2 separate regions of the Homo sapiens genome follow, and region 1 is linked to region 2. Evidence: promoter capture Hi-C in human tissues and cell types (Jung and others, 2019). All regions are on one chromosome and are shown on one strand. The core of a region is centred on a gene start or on the middle of the fragment in contact, and the rest is flanking DNA. Distances in the headings are between cores, read along the strand shown. Region 1 has its middle 68 kb from the start of MITF. Region 2 holds the start of UBA3 (ubiquitin like modifier activating enzyme 3).

Evidence for each region. Contacts are between HindIII fragments. The study calls those that stand out against the background at their distance.
Region 1: a contact is called between a fragment that was not itself captured here and the fragment with the promoter of UBA3 in region 2, in 1 of the 25 tissues and cell types used here (dorsolateral prefrontal cortex).

What each region holds. Positions count from the first base shown.
Region 1 is chr3:69,670,169-69,673,259 of GRCh38, forward strand. No RefSeq gene overlaps it. Among named protein-coding and RNA genes, the nearest start is that of MITF, 68 kb to the right of the region's middle. The HindIII fragment of the contact is 3,231 bases long and covers 1-3,032 here.
Region 2 is chr3:69,078,953-69,081,804 of GRCh38, forward strand. UBA3 (ubiquitin like modifier activating enzyme 3) reads right to left here and starts at 1,413. Exons shown (of 18, transcript NM_003968.4): 1 at 1,382-1,413; 2 at 1,160-1,201. The coding sequence starts at 1,401. RefSeq lists silencers at 892-1,121, 1,242-1,331, 1,452-1,521. The HindIII fragment of the contact is 6,628 bases long and covers 1-2,852 here.

The DNA.
Region 1 (3,091 bases), core at 167-2,666, 590 kb after region 2:
CAATCTGCCTGCCTTCACCTCCCAAAGTGCTGGGATTACACCACATCTGGCCATTTCTCTTTCGCATTATCATTCAGGATTCACCTCAGAAGTCAACAACTCTAAAAGGCTCAGCCAGACCACCTCCATTTGCCTGTGCAATTCATTACCCTTCTTTATTTTCTTTATAACAATGATCACTTCTGAAACTTGTACTATTTGTATATATGTTTCTTGTGTGCCTGTCCTTGCCAGAATGCAAGCTTCATAGAGGCAAGGACTTGGCTTCCTTTCCACTGGATCCTCAATTCCTAGCACAGGACCTGAGATATTTGTTAAATAAAATAGTGTTATTTTGTAATATATATGTAAATATATGTATATATTATGTATAAAAGCACAGTTCATGAGACATAATTTAAAATAGACAGACATATAAACAGAAGGTGGTATGAAAAATAAGTAGGAATAGTTTTATATTCAGGATAAGTAAAACTGGGGTTCTAGCCAGAACTGGTAAACTCTAAATTTCTTCTTCTAACCACTTGAATATTTTTTTCGTTGATCAGTACTCGGTTATCAGGAAAGGAAGATACCAGGCAAATAGATTGTAATTTAGTGCCTGGCACACATGAATAAAAGCAAAATCTAATGATATTGGAAATTCATGAGGCAAAAAGAAGTGATGAATCACCACCGTTCCATCCATAATTTTTTTTTTTTAAGAGATAGGGTCTCCCTATGGTGCCCACTGGTCTCGAACTATTGGCCTTAAGCAATCTGCCTGCTTTGGCCTACCGAAGTGCTTAGATTACAAGTGTGAGCCACCACACCCGGTCATTTTTTTTAATGATTTTTAGTGATGCAAATTCATTTCTATTACCTTAATCTATAATTATGATTGATTTATTGAAATAAACCCACTGGGATTTTTAGAAAAGCAATTCAAAATAATCATTTAATTTTGCTTTTCCAAAGGACTGAAACAATTAGTGTCAGCTGCAGTGTGCACTTATAAGAAGTGAAGAGTGCCTATATTTTTGCATATATTTGCTATGGCTTTTGAAAACAACTTTTGGGAAGATGGATGAGGGGAAGGAAGGTAGAAACTAGCAAAACTCTTTGTCAGACATTGCCATCTGCTGGTATATTCCCAAAATGCAACCCTGGACTCATTTCTTGTCAAAAATATAATTTAGGTGTTCCAAATTCCTCTGTTATTCAAATTCATGTAAAATCTGGGATTCAGATTCAAATTATGTTTGAAAATTAATGTATTATAAGTAAAATTTCAAGGTATTAGAACAACTGAATGAACGGTTTCTCTATTGTGCTGAAAAAATTCCAATTCCAGATTTTTAAAAAATCCTCATTAAAAAAGATCATCGTTATCGTTTAATCGTCTGCATGGGAATAAAGCAGCAAATTAAAGAGCCTGGAGCTCTACCCTCTCTGCAGTTTACTAGATTAGGGCTAAATTAGCTTAATTTGCTTGGTCAAGTGCCCATCACAGCACTCTCCCTTCACTCCATGTGGAGCTAATAAGAACTGACAAGTCTAAAATATGAGACTTGCCTTTGCTCAGCACTAACCCAGAGCCTGATGCTGACCATAGCCTTTAGTGTGTCCTAGTCTGCATCTACTGCAGACATGGTCGGCAGCAGCACAGGACTTGGCTGGTGTTCAGGCCACAGAGAACTGTGAAGGGAGCTGACTGTTCCTGTGATGATGGGTCACAGCACAACAGCAAAGGGAGTTGACTGTTCCTGTGATGATGGGTCCACAGATGGGGAGGCAAAGCCGGGAATTGTACCTGATGGCCATGCTGGCTGCCCTTCTATGGGATAAGCCCCAGCCAAACGGGTTGGCGTGAATATTCTGGACTGGACTTTTCCCGATTTCAGATCTTCCCTGAGTTGGAAAGCAAATGCACTTTCCCCAGGGTTAATGGGGTTTTACTAACAGCTGTGATGATCTTCCTTAAAGTTAGCATCCTGCAGTCTTTACAAGAGCTTGCTTTCTATTTTAATTTAAGTGTGTGTGGGTTTCAATTGACTGTCACCGCTTGGGATGCCATAGGGTGTTCGATGGAGTCTACTTAAACAGATGTGAGTTCCAACATACCTAGCTCCTTATCAGTTAGGTGACCCCATGCAAGCTACTGATGGTGGTGACCCTGAGTTTTGTACTCAAGATTTAACTTCAAGTTCATATATAACCTCATGTGTGGACTTAGGAAGTTCATGAACACCCCCTTGAAAGTATATGGGTTGTGTATGAGTTTGTATCATGTGGTTATACACATTTTTGTTCCTAAGGCATCCCTAAGCTTTCATCAGATTTCTAAAGTGGCCTATAACTTCTCTCCATGCTCCCAAAAAGTTCAGACTTTCTGTGATTCTGCTATTAAATGATGATACTAATGGCATAGAATTCACAGGGGTTGTTGTGAGGATAATTTAAAGTGGGTAAAAAATCACAGGCAGTGTGCCTGATACCTGTAAATATTAGTTTAGATGAGGGTATCAGAGCAGAGGTCAAAACTATTACTAAACTTAAGAGCCACAGTAAGTGTAATTTGGACTTGCTGTGAATGAACTTATTGGGAATCACTTAATGACTAGCAGCACCCTTGTGACCCACTGCAGTGTAATTCCTTCAATTGGTCTGATGATGTTATTGGTATTATCCTCACTGGGCCTGATTTTCCTGAAGGGAACTGAGCTGTGTGACCTTCGATGAGTTCAGATTTTTACCAACAATCTTCGATTATCAAAAGCAGAAGAAAATGCTTCTGTGTGAAATCAAAGGCTTTCAGGTAAATATAAGGGTTTAGAGAGTACATCTTCTATTATGTACTTAGTGAGGAAATTAGATAATGTTAAGGTAGATGCTTGATAAACATTCATTCCCATTCACTATTTTTTTATTTTTTATTATTTATTTATTTTATTTTTTAACACAAGGTCTCATTCTGTTGCCCGGGCTAGAGTGCAGTGGCACAATCTCAGCTCACTGCACCCTCCACCTCCTGGGCTCAAGCAATCCTCCTGCCTCAGCCCCCCAAGTAGCTGGGACTACAGGTGTGAACCACTACACCCAGCTAATTTTT
Region 2 (2,852 bases), core at 163-2,662:
ACGTTTGGTTGTGATTATTTTTAATTTTCTAATTTCCTATAACTCCACAGTTTCTACCGTCAAATATATTAGTAATATCCAATTTTTACAAAAGGGACCAAGAAGTATTGCCTAGCAATAAAAACCATACGTTTTGATGTCAGAGTTGTGTTGGGTTCCACAATTAACAGCACTGTGACCTTGAGCAGATTACTTAATAGACATAAACCTCATCTGCAGGCCGTTCATAGCTACTTCTTTCAGCCATGAGGATATAGATAATCACACAGAAGACTCAGTACAGTACGTGGGATATGGTAAGCAATGTTTAATTGTGATTTCATGTAAAAGTGGGAGGGAAATAAAAGGCAGGAAAGAATGTGAAATTAAGTTTGTCATCCCGGTCCTCTTGCAGCTGAAATTCAACTGAGGGACACACATAAAGATCAAAGCACTGCTACTGGGAATCGGCACGGAAATTTACAAACTCACCATAACCAATGCAAGAGTATTTTTTCCCTGCCCAGGCAGGGAGGGGAGTAAATTATGTGGCGCTGGCCAGGTTAGAAAACACTTCGATTAAATCTGTCTCACCAGCATAGAATTAAGCATCTGATAAGAAATAGGGTGTGTAGTAAAAGGGATAAATAGGCTGTTTGAAGTCAACAACCTCTTTCCAGATCTTTTAAGAGCCAATTATTCTGCCAAAATGACTGGAGTGCTTAGTACAATACCTGACATGTAGAGTTATCATTAAAAGTTTGCAATTAGTACTACTGTCTCAGTGTTTGCAAAAGGCCACAAAACGGTCTTGTGTCCTTTTCCTGTGTGTTTAAGGTAGATTGCCTTTTCACAGGGTCACTGCTCTGACAATTTGGGATGGAGGAAGAGGAGTGCACAAGGGTCCTTCCTCAAGACCTTTACGTCAAGCACCCCGGAGGGCCCCTGCAGGAGCTGGGGCAGTACAGCCTGGCCCCGACGCCCGCACCGGGCAGATACCGGGAGCGGCCCGCCAGGCCCCCGGGGCTGCGGGGCGGGGATCAGGGGATGAGGCAGCGCGGCCTGCGCTCCGGGTGTCCCCCTCCCAGCCCCCCGGGCCCGCTGCGGCTGGTCCCCTAGGCCTGGGGTGGGGGGAGGCGGGGGTCCCCGGAGAGGGCCCCGGCCTCCCGGCAGCACTAACTTCTCAGCCAGCAGCTCCTCTATTCTCCTTCTTTTCTTCTCCCTAAAAGAGAGAATAAAAGAAGGGTCAGCATCGCGCTACACACTGGGCGCCGCGAGGGGAGGGGGGCGAGGGGACGGGGCGGGGGGTGTGGGGACCCCGGGTGGCGGCGGCAACCGCCCACCGCCGCGCTCTCTCACAACCCAGCCCAGCCCGGCGCGTCTGCAGAGCCCCGGTACTTACGGCTCCTCGCCATCCGCCATATTGTTCTCCGCCTCTTCCCAGGTGCCCACGCGCGGCAGGGCGGGGAGGAGCGGGACTGGCAAAGCGGGGAGGGGCGGGGCTGGCGAAGCGGGGAGGGGCGAGGCCAGAAACACAACCGGCAGGGAGGTGCGAGGTTGACTGCGGCTGGGCTCCCATGGGCTTTAAAGTCTTGCCCTGTAATTATAATCTTAATTACCTACGCTTAATTAGGTGAATCTTATACCGTGCATAATGTTGCTCTGCAGCGTGAAAATGTAGACAATACATTATGCGTTTACACAAACTATATGTTAATACGTAATTATACAAAATATTGGTATATTCTATGAAAAATTCGTGAAGAACCCTCCCAGTATGCCAGAGCTTTCCTCTGGGGGCAAAGATCAAGGAAATTTTCACTTTCTGCTTTTCAGGATGGTTCCAAAGTCTTTGCCTTTATAAGTACTCACTTGAATAATAAATTTATCTAAATCCGTTTACATTGGTGGGGTGGGAGATTATTATTTTCTTTGAACAAATCAGCATTAATATTTTCATGTCACATTCTGTTAGATAAGTTCAGCGGAAACAAAATGATTAAAACTTTTCCTGAGATAAATGTGTATATTTAGATACAAAGAAAAAAGTATAAAGGAAAACAATCACAAAAATCAAAGAATAACTGAGAACACCCATAATCCTATCACCTAAAGATAAATTGTGATAAAAGTTTCAATTATTTTCTTCTAGAGTCAGAAATACAAATATACACTGTGAATCTGGATGGCTGGATAGAGGGAAATGATCATGTTCAAAAATGTATGTATATACACGTACACACACATCTCCTTCTATGGAGTGGGACAAGAATGATATTTGGAATCAAAAGTAACTGATTTTAAATTCTTCTCAGTTGTGAGCTACGAAACCCTTAGACACTTCTATTTCTTCATTTATAAAGTGGGCATAACACTATTCACCTTGTAAGACTGATAATTAAGTAAAATCCAGAGTGGCTCTCAAAATACAGTTCCTGATCAACATCACTTGGGAAGTTTTTTTTAACACAAATTTTCACCCCTCACCGCCCCCACCACGCTCCCCACCGCCCCCCCGCCACCCCACCCTTCAGCCTTCTGCAAAGCCTGGGGTGATTCTCCACTGGTAAAGTTTGAGGGCCACTGAAATGGAGTACATAAAGCCTGATGGGTACTCAGTAAATGTAGCTGCTGTTACTACACTGTGATATTTAACCTCCTCTTGTCCTAGTTTTCAGTGAACCTTAAGGAAAGCTTGTCCTTTATGGTCCCCCAATTAGGTTCAGTTCAATAGCATTCACTGAGCTGAAAGTCAATGCCAGGCAGTGAGCGTGGGAATAGAGTTCACAGTCCCTATCAAGAGATACCAGCCTCCTTCTGCATCACATGTCTCAGCGTCAACTATGAAACTACTTTTTCTTGCCCAGACAACT